2 separate regions of the Homo sapiens genome follow, and region 1 is linked to region 2. The links are contacts of gene promoters, found by promoter capture Hi-C in human tissues and cell types (Jung and others, 2019). All regions are on one chromosome and are shown on one strand. The core of a region is centred on a gene start or on the middle of the fragment in contact, and the rest is flanking DNA. Distances in the headings are between cores, read along the strand shown. Region 1 overlaps ZAN (zonadhesin). Region 2 holds the start of EPO (erythropoietin).

Region 1 (6,516 bases), core at 1,378-3,877, 41 kb after region 2:
GTGGCTCACGCCTGTAACCCCAACACTTTGGGAAGCCGAGGTGGGGGGTTCACCTGAGGTCAGGAGTTTGAGACCAGCCTGGTCAACATGGTGAAACCCCGTCTCTACTAAAAATATAAAAAATTAGCCAGGCTTGGTGGCAGGCACCTGTAATCCCAGCTACTTGGGAGGCTGAGGCAGGAGAATTGCTTGAACCTGGGAGGCGGAGGTTGCAGTGAGCCAAGATCGAGCCACTGCACTCCTGCACTCTAGCCTAAGCAGCAAGAGCAAAACTCTGTCTCAGAAAAAAAAAAAAATTAAAAAATCAGCTGGGTATGGTGGGACACACCTATAGTCCCAGCTAGTCGGGAGGATGAGGCAGGAGGATCGCTTGAGCCCAAGAGTTGGAGGCTGCAGTGAGCTATGATCACACCACTGCACTCCAGCCTGGGTAGCAAAGTGAGATCTTGTCTCGAAAAATAAATAAATACACACATAAATGAAGTTAAAAACAAAAAAGCAAAGAAGGCAGTGGTAGTGGTTAGGGAGCACAGACGCCCTGGAGGATGTTCCAGCCACTGAGTGGAGACAGACACGCTGCGGCTGCAGGCTCTTCTGGAAGAGGCAGTCGTGGTCTGCTCCTGTGTGGATCCGGCCTCCCCTACTGGACTTTGGGGCTGGTGTCTCGGTGGCGCTCATCTCTCCCTGCGGCGCCAGGCTCAGGGCACTGCTCGCGGCAGATGTTCAGAAATGAGCCACTGGGCTCTCTTCATTCCTCTCCCTACCCAGACCCATTCTTCAGGGTGACAGCCAAGAATGAGGAGCAGGGACAGGAAGGCGTGTCCTGCCTGAGCAAAGTCTACGTGACCCTGCCCGAGAGCACCGTCACCCTGCTTAAGGGCAGACGCACTCTGGTGAGCCCCATTCCACCCCCACCATCCTTGCAGGGTCTGACTGTGTGTCCTGGCCAACCCTTCCAATCCCTGAACCTTTCCACGGATGGGGTTCAACAAGACAGTGACCTGCAATCCCAGCTCCTTGGGAGGCTAAAGTGGGAGGATTGCTTGAGGCCAGGAGTTTGAAGCCAGCCTGGGCAAGATAGCAAGACCCTGTCTCTTAAAAAATAGAAAAAATTAGCCTGGTGTGGTGGCACTTGCCTGTTGTCCCCTCTACTCCAGAGGCTGAGGTGGGAGGATTGCTGGAGCCTGGGAGGTCGAGGCTGCAGTGAGCTGTGATTGCACCATTGCACTCCAGCCTAGGCAACATAGTAAGACACTGTCTCCTAAAAACAAAAACAAAAACAAAACAGTGGTGAGGAAGCTCCAGTCCACTCCTGGTGGATGAGATTGTTAGGCCGCTGTGGATGGTGTCCTGCCTCCCAGCTATGGAAATGAAAGTCTGCTGGGGTCCTCCTTGACCCCCAGCTCTGTCTGTCTCTTGCCTCTGCCCTGCCTTCCAGGTTGGGGGTCAGCAAGTTACTCTCCCAGCCATACCCTCTAAAGGCGTCTTCCTGGGTGCAAGCGGGCGGTTTGTGGAGCTGCAGACGGAGTTCGGTTTGCGGGTGAGATGGGATGGTGACCAGCAGCTGTATGTTACTGTGTCCAGGTAAGGCAGTGTCCCAGCCAGGCAGCTGCCACTTCTTCCTGCTGCCTCTTCCTGCTGCCTCTTCTTCCTGCTGCCCACCCTGCCCACTCCCCTTCCATCCCTGGCACCACTACTTGATCCTTTATGCATTCACGGATGGGAAGCACCCTGCTTAAGTGGCAGGGATCCCTTTGGACCAGGAGACAGGAGAAAATGGTTTCGGGGCATGTGATAGATAGCAGGATGGATGTACATGCTTTGGGAATGTGCTAGAAGGAGCACTAGTGAGTTCTGGAGGCTTTCTGAAGGGCAGTCACCTGGTCCCATTCTCGAAGGAAGAGTGGCTCCCCAGATGGACAAAACAAGGGAAAGCAAGATTCTTCTTCTTCTTTTTTTTGAGACAGGATCTCTCGCTCTGTTCCCTAGGCTGGAGTGCAGTGGTGCTATCTCGGCTCACTGCAACCTCTGCCTCCCAGGTTCAGCAATTCTCCTGCCTCAGCCTCCCAAGTAGCTGGGATTACAGGCGCACACCACCATGCCCAGCTAATTTTTGTTTTTAGTAGAGATGGGATTTCATCATGTTGCCCAGGCTTGTCTCGAACTCCTGACTTCAGGCGATCCTCCTGCCTCGGCCTCCCAAAGTCTTGGAATTACAGGGGAGCCACTGTGCCCGGCGAAAGAAAGACTTTATAAAAATACTTTATAGAGGCCAGGTGCAGGGGTTCCCGCCTGTAGCCCTGAACTTTGGGAGGCTGAGACGGGAGAATCCCTTGGGGCCAGGAATTCCAGACCAGCCTGGGCAACATAGTGAGACCATATCTCCACAAAAAAATTTAAATATTAGCCAGGCGTAGTGGCCTGCACCTATAATCTCAGCATGCTGGGAGGCCGAAGCAAGAGGATCACTTGAGGCCAGGAGTTCCAGACCAGCCTGGACAACATAGTGAGATCCTGTCTCTTAAAAAAAAATTAGCTTCTCGTGGTGGTACTTGCCTGTAGTCTCAGCTACTCAGGAGGCTGAGGTGGGAGAATCGCTTGAACCCAGGAGTTGGAGGCTGCAGTGAGCCGAGATTGCACCACTGTGCTCCAGCCTGAGCCACAGAGGGTGACCCTATCTCTAAAATAAATAAAAAAATAAATAAATAATTTGGCCAGGCACGGTGGCTGACACCTGTAATCCCAGCACTCTGGGAGGCCAAGGCAGGCAGATTAGGAGTTTGAGACCAGCCTGGCCAACATGGTGAAACCCCATCTCTACTAAAAATACAAAAAAATTAGCTGGGCGTGGTGGTGTGTGCCTGTAATCCCAGCTACTCGGAAGGCTGAGGCAGGAGAATCACTAGAACCCGGGAGGTGGAGGTTGCAGTGAGCCGAGGTTGCACCACTGCCCTCTAGCCTAGGTGACGGAGAGAGACTCCATCTGAAAAAAAGGATAAATAAATAAATAAATAAATAAATAAATAAATAAATAAAGTGGGAGTGTTTTAGGGCCAGCAAGGGGTTTGCTGTGGCTGGACAATGAACAGAGGGGAAGGAGGCTTGGGGGAGGGCCATGGGGTCCTCTTGTCCAGTCCGCACCTCTTCATCCTCCTCACGCCCTCTGTTTTAGGATCCCAGCTCCTTGCCTTCTCTGCCACTGCCCCTCGAGGACCGAGGCTGCTTCTCTCCATTAACGCCAGCTCCTCTCCTGTTCCCCTAGCACATACTCTGGCAAACTCTGTGGTTTGTGTGGGAACTATGACGGCAACAGTGACAATGACCACCTGAAGTTGGACGGCAGCCCAGCAGGAGACAAGGAGGAGCTGGGGAACAGCTGGCAGACGGACCAGGACGAGGACCAGGAGTGAGCAAGGAGCCCTCCCACCGGGGCCCTGGGAAGGTTCCGTCCCCTTCCTGGAACTCTCTTTTTTTTTTTTTTTTTTTTTTTTGAGATGGAGTCTCCTTCTGTCGCTTAGGCTGGAGTGCAGTGGTGCGATCTCAGCTCACTGCAACCTCCGCCTCCCAGGCTCAAGCAATTATCCTGCCTCAGTCTCCCGAGTAGCTGGGATTACAGGCACCTGCCACCACACACAGCTAATTTTAGTATTTTTGTAGAGATGGGGTTTCACCATGCTGGCCAGGCTGGTCTCAAACTCCTGGCCTCAAGTGATCCACCTGCCTTGGCCTCTCAAAGTTCTGGGATTACAGGTGTGAGCCACCACACCACCACGTCCAGCCCTCCACCCGCCCTTTTTTTTTTTTTGAGATGGGATCTCCCTCTGTCTTCCAAGCTGGAGTGCAATGGCACGATCGTGGCTTACTGCAGCCTCAAACTCCTGAGCTCAAGCAATCCTCCCTTCTCTGCCTCCCAAGTAGCTTGGACTACACCATGCCCAGCTAACTTTAACAAAATTTTTTGGTAGACATGGGGTTCTCACCAGATGGGGGGTTGACCAGGCTGCTGGCCCTCCCCAACGGTTTTTTTTTTTTTTTTTGAGATGGAGTCTTGCTGTGTCACCCAGGCTAGAGTGTAGTTGTGCAATCTCAGCTCACTGAAACCTCTGCCTCCTGGGCTCAAGTGATTCTCACGCCTCAATCCCAATGAGATTATAGGCACATGCCACCACACCTGTCTGATTTTTGTATTTTTAGTAGAGACGGGGTTTCATCATGTTGGCCAGGCTGGTTTCGAACTCCTGACCTCAGGTGATTCACCTGCCCTGGCCTCCCAAAATGCAAAATGCCGGGATTACAGGCATCACCACCACACCCAGCCTGTGCCCTCCCTTTAAAAAATGACTGGCATTGCCCCTTTCTCCTCTCTACCCTGGAGACTTCAAGTTGTTCTTTCAGTTGCTCAATATTCTTTTTTGTTTGTTTGTTTGTTTGTTTTTAGAGACAGGGCCTTGCTCTGTCGCCCAGGCTGGAGTGCAGTGGTTCAATCACAGCTCACTGCAGGCTCCAACTCCTGGGCTCAACAGATTCTCTCACCTCAGCCTCCTGAGTAGCTGGGGCTATGGACGTGCGCCATATGAAATATGAAATAAATAATTTCATATTTATTTTTAAAGAGATGGGATCTCAGTGTGTTACCCAGGCTGGCCTGGAACTCCTGGGCTCAAGCAATTCTCCCTGCCTCGGCCTCCCACAGTGCCTGGCCAGGGCTCAGTGGTCAAACATCCTCTGGGAGGGGTTTCCCAGCTGACAGGCTGGTTTGCCGGTCCCGGCCTGCCAGCCTTGCTGCCTGCTGGGTTAGGGATGAGCTGGAAGCGAGCTTTGTCTTTAGGGAGTTTGGGGTGGGTCTCTTGCAGGTGTCAGAAGTACCAGGTGGTGAATTCCCCGTCTTGTGATTCATCTCTGCAGAGCAGCATGTCGGGGCCAGGGTTCTGTGGACGGCTGGTCGACACTCATGGCCCATTTGAGTATGAAGGAGGGCAGGCAGGGTCGCACAGGGGCGATGCTTGGCACCTGGGCTCCTCCAAGGCTCTACCCCCTTCCACTGCATTCCCCCTGACTTGGTCACTCCCCTCAGGACATGCCTGCTGCACGTGAAGGCCGCTTCCTTCTTCGACAGCTGCATGCTTGATATGTGCGGATTCCAGGGGCTGCAGCACCTGCTGTGCACACACATGTCCACCATGACCACCACCTGCCAGGACGCAGGCCACGCTGTGAAGCCCTGGAGGGAACCCCACTTCTGCCGTGAGTTGTGCCAAACTCAGAGGAGAGGCCGGGCACGGTGGCTCACACCTATAATCCCAGCACTTTGGGAGTCCGAGGCAGGTGGATCATGAGATCAGGAGTTTGGGACCAGCCTGGCCAACACCCCGTCTCTACTAAACATACCAAAATTAGCCAGGCATGGTGGCATATGCCTGTAGTCCCAGCTACACTGGAGGCTGAGGCAGGAGAATCGCTTGAACCCGGGAGGCAGAGGTTGCAGTGAGCCGAGATTGCGCCACTGCACTCCAGCCTGGGCGACAGAGTGAGACTCCATCTCAAAAAATAAAATAAAATAAATAAATAAATAAATAAAAATACAGAAATTAGCTGTGTGTGGCAACGGGTACCTGTAATCCCAGCTACTTGGAGGCTGAGGCAGGAGAATTGCTTGAACCTGGGAGGCGGAGGTTGCAGTGAGCCGAGATTGCACCACTGCACTCCAGCCTGGGTGACAGAATGAGACTCCATCTCAAAAAATAATAAAAATAATAAATAAATAAATATACAAAAATTAGCTGTGTGTGGCAACGGGCGCCTGTAATCCCAGCTACTTGGGAGGCTGAGGCAGGAAAATCGCTTGAACCCGGGAGGTGGAGGTTGCAGTAAGCAGAGATTGCGCCACTGCACTACAGCCTGGGCAGTGAGAGCGAAACTCTGTCTTTAAAAAAAAAAAAGTGTTTCTGTGCAGCCCAAGTCATCACACGCAGGCACACGGTACAGGCCCTAGGCAGGGGAGGCAACGAGGCTGCCTCCCAGCTCCTGGTGTGGCCCAGCTCTTTGGGGAAGCTGCTTTAGGGCAGGCCTATCCCCTGACTCAGACCTCACAGGTGGCCCCGGTCCCCTGCGGGCCAACAGCTCACCTGGGGCATGTCTACACAGCAGCGCTGCCAGTGGTGGGTCCATCTGCTCCCACCATAGGTCTATCTAAGTCTCTCAGGGCCGGCGCCTTAGTGCTGGCCCTGCAGCCCCAGGGAGCCAGCCAGGCTCCTTGGGGAAGCTTCTCACAGTCACTCTCTCTTCTCGAGATTGGCCAGAAGCCTGGAGCTGGGGCCCTTCCGAACGTGTCCTTCCTGTTTCCCACCCAGCCCCGTGGCTTGTTCGTCTCCTTCTCACCCAAGCTTCTCCCTCCACCAGCAATGGCCTGCCCGCCCAACAGCAAGTACTCCCTGTGTGCGAAGCCATGCCCTGACACCTGCCATTCAGGATTCTCCGGCATGTTCTGCTCAGACCGGTGCGTGGAGGCCTGTGAAT
Region 2 (7,385 bases), core at 4,534-7,033:
CCCTATGTTGCCCAGACTGGTCTCAAACTCCTGGGCTCAAGGGATCCTCCCTCCTTAGCCTCCTAAAGTGCTGGGATTCCAGGCGTGAGCTACCGTGCCTGGCCCTCCAGCATTCTTGCTTCCTTCACAGTTCCCCAAAGGCCACCCAACAAGGTCCCCAGCCACCTCCCCTCCCAGCACAGAAGGTCTTCTGGGCCTCTGGCTGAACTCGAGCTGAGCTGAGAAGCCACTGCTTGGAAATGAGGAGGGAAAGAGAAGCCAGGAGGCCCCCCTTCCCAAGTCCGACTCCAGGCAGCTGGGGCTCCGTGCTGCCTGGGGGTCTGGGACAGCTCGGGGGGCTGTAAATTTGCTTCTGCTTGGATTTCCAATCTGAATCCACTGCCAGGAGGAATCCGTGGAGCAGAGCCTGCCTCCACACCCGCCATCCTCCTGTCACAACTGGCCCTTTTCAAACCCTGCCTCAGTGGCTGCCTGCTCAGGAAGTGCATGGAAGCTTCACACGCCCCAGGATCCCAGGGAGCTGGGTTGACCGGGGGATGGCTCAGTGCCCCCTCTAGGTTGGGTTCTTCTCTGAGCATGTAGTGGAGGGACCACATAATGCAATCCACACTTGGGTGGTTACCACAGAAAAGGGACATGCTGGACGCTTGGTAGACAGAAAAATGCATCAGAACTTCCATACGCAGCCCTTCGCTCTCTTCGATGACTAGGGCACCTGCACTACGTGACTCCAGACGGTACCATTCCCTTCAGAGTCTCTATGGATGCCCCTGGGAGTTGGGCAGTGCTCATCTTTGACGGCTGTCCATGGCGGTCCTGCCAGTGAGATGCCTAAGACATGTACATAAATGACGGCAGTGCCAGGGAAGGAGACGATTTCCTGCTGGGAGATCAAGAAAGGCTTCATGGAGGAGGCGATGCACAGATTTGGGCTTTAAAGAAAACGAGGAGATGGTGTGGGAGGGTAATCCAGGATGAGCCAAGGGCAGGAAGGCACAAACCATCTCCTGTGGTGGAGGGAGTGGGAGTGAGCAAAGCGGGAGAACAGCCTGGAACATGAAGTGAATGGTAGACCTTGGAGGGTCTCAGTTCTGAGGCAATAGGAAGCCGTGACAGGTTCCTGCTCAGGGAATTAGCACAAATGAGGCTGTTCAGTGGGAAAGTTAATTGAGCAGCAGGGTTAGGGATTAACTGGAGGGGTCAATGAGGAGATGCTCTGCAGTGGTCCTGGGCCTGTGGGTCAGCATCTGCTAGAAGATGAAGAGCAGGCAGATGACGGGGGTGGGGGGCACTGGGCAGGGGGATGGTGGGCATTGGTCGGGGAGCCCCATGGAGCTTCTTGTTTTCTTCCTGTTCCTCAAGGACAGATGAATGGACCCTGCATTGCTCAGTATCCAAGAGGCTCTGGGCTCCAAACCAGCCTCTCCCCTCTTAGCAGAATTACTATGGCTTCAAGCCGGGTGTGGTGGCTCACGCCTGTAATCCCAGCACTTTGGGAGGCCGAGGCGGGCGGATCACTTGAGGTTGGGAGTTCGAGACCAGCCTGGCCAACATGGCGAAACCCCATCTCTACTGAAAATACAAAAATTACCGGGCGTGGTGGCACATGCCTGTAATTCCAGCTACTCGGGAGGCTGAGGCAGGAGAATTGCTTGAACCCGGGAGGTGGAGGTTGCAGTGAGCTGAGATAATGGCACCACTGCACTCCAGCCTGGGCAATAGAGTGAGACTCCATCTCAAAAAGAGAATTACTATGGCTTCGGATTGGGTATGGGGTGGACCAAGATCCTCTCCTCCCTCCCAAGCTGCAATCACAGCTCTCTCTCCAGAAGCCCCAGGGGACAAGGCAGTCACTACTCCTATCCAGCAGGCTACAGCATTTAGAGGCTGGTGCCCCTGGCCCATCTCTCACTCCTCTTCAACTGCAGACAAGGATGCAGGGACCCCCGAGAAGCTGTGTGAGGGGAGGGGCAGGTCCCACAGCCCAAAAGGCTCCTCCTCCTCCAGCTGTGTCCACCCCACCCATCTGTCTCCGGCCCCCTCTCCATGGTTAGGTCAGGGCATTGACGCAGGAGTCAGGGTCCTGGGAGAGCAGAGGCTGGGGAAGGGGAGCAGCCAAGACAGAACGCACGTGCGGCCATGTGTGGATGTGAGTGTGATGGTGCACGTCCCAGGACTCTGGAAGGGATCAGAACCAGGAGCCGAGTGGGGCTGGGGGAGCCTGGACAGCAGTTTTGGGAAGGCTCAAGGTGAGCAGAGGATGCAGGGGAGCAGGGTCTGAGGGAATTAGGCCAGCCAGAAGCATACCAGCCTCTGTCTCCTGACCCCCACCCAACCATCTTGCCAAACCACTCATTTTTTCTTTTTTTTTTTTGAGACAGGGTCTCCCTTTGTTGCCCAGTCTAGAGTGCAGTGGCGTGATCATAGCTCACTGCAGCCTCAACCTCCCGGGCTCAAGAGATCCTCTGACCTCAGCCTCCTGAGTAGCTGGGACTACAGATGTGCACCACCATGCCCAGCTAGCTAAACAAAAATAAAAATTATAGACATGGGATCTCACTATGTTGCCCAGGCTGGTCTCAAACTCCTGGCCTCAAGCAATCCTCCTGCCTCAGCCTCCCAAAATGTTGGGATTACAGGTGTGAGCCACTACACTTGGCCCAAATCCCCCTCCCATCAAGCTCTTCACCTCACCACACCCTCATGGTCCCTCACCCCCAACAGGTCTTTATTCAAGTCAGTTTCTCAGCCTAGTGTCTCTGACTACCTTATTTTAGATAACCCTGCCTGTGCCTTTTCTCCTTAGTTCTGGCTATTTGAAATCCTCTATCTTTTCTTTTCTTTTCTTTCTTTTTTTTTTTTTTTTTTGAGACAGGGTCTCATTCTGTTGCCCAGGGTGGAGTGCAGTAGCAAAACCACAGCTCACTGCAGCCTCAACTTCCTGGGCTGAAGTGATCCTCCCACCTCAGCCTCCCAAGTAGCTGGGACTATAGGCACATGCCATCATGCCCAGCTAATTTTTGTATTTTTTTGTAAAGATGGGGTTTCACCATGTTGCCCAGGCTGGTCAAGCCAACTCCTGGGCTCAAGTGATCCTCTTGCCTTGGCCTCCCGAAGTGCTGGGATTACAGGCATGAGCCACCTCACCCAGCCAAAATCCTCTGTCTTGTACCCATTTTTGTGTTCATCATTGGCAACCCCACTAGAACATCAGCTCCACCAGGGCAGGCATTCCTGGCTGTATCATTCACTGCTCTATCCCCAGGTCCTTGGCCAGGGGTAGGTAGGAAATCCATAAATATCTTTTGAATGAATGAGTGAATGTTTCCCACTCTTTCCAAACAAAATCCAAATTCTTCAGAGAGGCATTCAAGGCCATAGACAGCCTGACTCCTCCCTAAGCAGCACCCTGGCCTCATCTTCCACCTCTCTCTTCTCCATCTTCCCTTCTGCTCACCTGTAGGGAGACCCCCTGAAACTACTGCTACGGAATAAAAGATGAAATGCTCCTGATTATTGTAAATACAAAATTGCATGCAGGATTGTGTACAAACAATGCCAGGTTGGACTGCCAGAATGAGCCAACAGCCTGTGATGTGCTTCCGCCTGCGGAGAGCCTATGAACGGACCTGCAGTCAGGGAGGTTTCACATCACCAAGATTTCTATCCCAGAAAAGCAGATGTTCATAGCTCTGGGAATGGAATGCGACCCTTGTGGAGAGCCTATAAACGGACGCATGGGGGCGGGGGGCACCTGTCCATATGGATAAGATAGGGCTATAAACGCCCTCATCTTGCCATGGCTCTTCTAGGCCTCTTTAGGGTTAAGGCATACTCCCTTCTGAGAATTTCTGGTCTAACTGGTTGTCTAGCTTCATGTCCTGTTTCCATGGATTGTCTGTAACCAGCTTTTGTTGCAATTGTTACTGCTGATTAGTATCTTGCTAATCATAGGTTATGGAAAGATTGTGTTTCTGTTTTAAGGCTCTGTTAGAAATTACTGATGCACACACTATATTGTAAATTCTTATCTCTGTATACTGTACTTCTGCATACAAATGTACTGTACTTCTACATATAAATGTTATGTTAAAGAATTAATTCATCCCCATGTGACCATCTCACCTCATAATCAAATGACCCTAAATCCCTCACTAACCTACCCCCGCCCTCACTAAACTTAATAATAAATGATGGTACATCTGGTGCATTGTTGACACCACGGGACCAGAAGGCGGTGACCCCCCGGACCAGCTTTCACTATCTTGTGTGTGTCTATTATTTCTCAACCTGCTGATCCGCCTGGGAACAAAGAGAGAGCCCTGTTGCATTGCGGGCTGCTGGCCAGATCCCGCAATACTCACCTGACTCTCCATTCACTTTGCTGAATCGACAATCCCCCACCCACCTCATACCTCTTCCCATTGATGTCCTACCCCCCTTCAAGGCTGAGGTCATTGTCACCTCCTCCCTCAAATCTTTCTTGATTTCTCCCGGCTAACTCTTACAGCTCAGATCTACACATTCCAGTCTTTTTTTGTTTTTGAGACAGGCTCTCACTCTGTCGCCCAGGCTGCAGTGCAGTGGCACGATCATGGCTCACTACGGCCTCGAACTCCTGGGCTCAGGTGATCCTCCTGCCTTAGCCTCCTGCATATTTGGGACTACAGGCGTGAGCCACCACACCTGACTAATTATTTTTTATTTATTTATTTATTTTAGAGACAAGGTCTTGCCATGTTGTCCGGGCTGGTCTCGAACTCCTGGGCTCAAAGGATCTTCCTGCCTTGGTCTCCCAAAGTGCTGGGATTATAGGTGTCAGCTGCGGCGCCTGGACCTTTCCTGTCTTTTATGAAACCTGAATGGGATAGGCTGGTAGTTTCACCACACCCATTTGACAGATGAGGACATTGAGGGCTCAAGGACGAGGCCACTTTCTAAGGTGTGAGAGACCAGCTAGTCTTGGTCTCCTGCTCTGGGAATCTCACTCCTCTGGCTCAGGGTTTCCAGAAGCCATAAAACCTTAGCTGTAAATCCCAGCCCCCATCACTCTTGGTGTTAGCTGTATTTCAGTGTTCTTAAGAACTCAGCAATGCAGCCTAGCTAACCTACACCACAGGTCAAATAAACAGATGTCAAGGTGCATGTGTGTCCTGCACAATGGACTGTGTGCTCTGTGCACTAAAAGTTAAGTGTCTGGGGTGGGGGCTGGGTGCGGTGGCTCACGCCTGCAATCCCAGCACTTTGAGAGGCCGAGGAGGGTGGATCACCTGAGGTCAGGAGTTCAAGACCGGTATGGGCAATATGGCAACACCCCATCTCTACTAAAAATACAAAACATAGCCGGGTGTAAAGGTGTGCCTGTAGTCCCAGCTGCTCCAGAGGCTGAAGCAGGAGAATTGCTTGAACCCAGGAGGCAGAGGTTGTAGTGAACGGGAGATGGCACCACTGCACTGCCTGGGCAACATAGGGAGGCTACATCTCCAGAAAAAAAAAAAAAAGTTAAGTGTCTGGGTTTGCAGAGTACTAGACGGTGAGGAGTGAGGTGGGGAGGAAGAACCCCAAATTTCTTGCCCTATTTGCCCCCATCAAATTCCTCAACATGGTCAACATTGTTTCTAGAACATGTCCTGGGATTGTGGGAAGGGAGACCACTCATTTGCCCCTCCCTAAAGCTTCTGGGCTTCCAGACCCAGCTACTTTGCGGAACTCAGCAACCCAGGCATCTCTGAGTCTCCGCCCAAGACCGGGATGCCCCCCAGGGGAGGTGTCCGGGAGCCCAGCCTTTCCCAGATAGCACGCTCCGCCAGTCCCAAGGGTGCGCAACCGGCTGCACTCCCCTCCCGCGACCCAGGGCCCGGGAGCAGCCCCCATGACCCACACGCACGTCTGCAGCAGCCCCGCTCACGCCCCGGCGAGCCTCAACCCAGGCGTCCTGCCCCTGCTCTGACCCCGGGTGGCCCCTACCCCTGGCGACCCCTCACGCACACAGCCTCTCCCCCACCCCCACCCGCGCACGCACACATGCAGATAACAGCCCCGACCCCCGGCCAGAGCCGCAGAGTCCCTGGGCCACCCCGGCCGCTCGCTGCGCTGCGCCGCACCGCGCTGTCCTCCCGGAGCCGGACCGGGGCCACCGCGCCCGCTCTGCTCCGACACCGCGCCCCCTGGACAGCCGCCCTCTCCTCCAGGCCCGTGGGGCTGGCCCTGCACCGCCGAGCTTCCCGGGATGAGGGCCCCCGGTGTGGTCACCCGGCGCGCCCCAGGTCGCTGAGGGACCCCGGCCAGGCGCGGAGATGGGGGTGCACGGTGAGTACTCGCGGGCTGGGCGCTCCCGCCCGCCCGGGTCCCTGTTTGAGCGGGGATTTAGCGCCCCGGCTATTGGCCAGGAGGTGGCTGGGTTCAAGGACCGGCGACTTGTCAAGGACCCCGGAAGGGGGAGGGGGGTGGGGCAGCCTCCACGTGCCAGCGGGGACTTGGGGGAGTCCTTGGGGATGGCAAAAACCTGACCTGTGAAGGGGACACAGTTTGGGGGTTGAGGGGAAGAAGGTTTGGGGGTTCTGCTGTGCCAGTGGAGAGGAAGCTGATAAGCTGATAACCTGGGCGCTGGAGCCACCACTTATCTGCCAGAGGGGAAGCCTCTGTCACACCAGGATTGAAGTTTGGCCGGAGAAGTGGATGCTGGTAGCTGGGGGTGGGGTGTGCACACGGCAGCAGGATTGAATGAAGGCCAGGGAGGCAGCACCTGAGTGCTTGCATGGTTGGGGACAGGAAGGACGAGCTGGGGCAGAGACGTGGGGATGAAGGAAGCTGTCCTTCCACAGCCACCCTTCTCCCTCCCCGCCTGACTCTCAGCCTGGCTATCTGTTCTAGAATGTCCTGCCTGGCTGTGGCTTCTCCTGTCCCTGCTGTCGCTCCCTCTGGGCCTCCCAGTCCTGGGCGCCCCACCACGCCTCATCTGTGACAGCCGAGTCCTGGAGAGGTACCTCTTGGAGGCCAAGGAGGCCGAGAATATCACGGTGAGACCCCTTCCCCAGCACATTCCACAGAACTCACGCTCAGGGCTTCAGGGAACTCCTCCCAGATCCAGGAACCTGGCACTTGGTTTGGGGTGGAGTTGGGAAGCTAGACACTGCCCCCCTACATAAGAATAAGTCTGGTGGCCCCAAACCATACCTGGAAACTAGGCAAGGAGCAAAGCCAGCAGATCCTACGGCCTGTGGGCCAGGGCCAGAGCCTTCAGGGACCCTTGACTCCCCGGGCTGTGTGCATTTCAGACGGGCTGTGCTGAACACTGCAGCTTGAATGAGAATATCACTGTCCCAGACACCAAAGTTAATTTCTATGCCTGGAAGAGGATGGAGGTGAGTTCCTTTTTTTTTTTT

What was found. Contacts are between HindIII fragments. The study calls those that stand out against the background at their distance.
Region 1: a fragment that was not itself captured here is called in contact with the fragment with the promoter of EPO in region 2 in 5 of the 25 tissues and cell types used here (H1 embryonic stem cells, small bowel, spleen and 2 more).

Annotation. Positions count from the first base shown.
Region 1 is chr7:100,758,953-100,765,468 of GRCh38, forward strand. It overlaps ZAN (zonadhesin), which reads left to right. Exons shown (of 48, transcript NM_003386.3): 18 at 769-893; 19 at 1,439-1,584; 20 at 3,263-3,406; 21 at 4,854-4,964; 22 at 5,075-5,244; 23 at 6,400-6,516. Among named protein-coding and RNA genes, the nearest start is that of ZAN, 29 kb to the left of the region's middle. The HindIII fragment of the contact is 7,390 bases long and covers 1-6,322 here.
Region 2 is chr7:100,714,685-100,722,069 of GRCh38, forward strand. EPO (erythropoietin) reads left to right here and starts at 5,784. Exons shown (of 5, transcript NM_000799.4): 1 at 5,784-6,309; 2 at 6,874-7,019; 3 at 7,278-7,364. The coding sequence starts at 6,297. The HindIII fragment of the contact is 31,866 bases long and covers 3,085-7,385 here.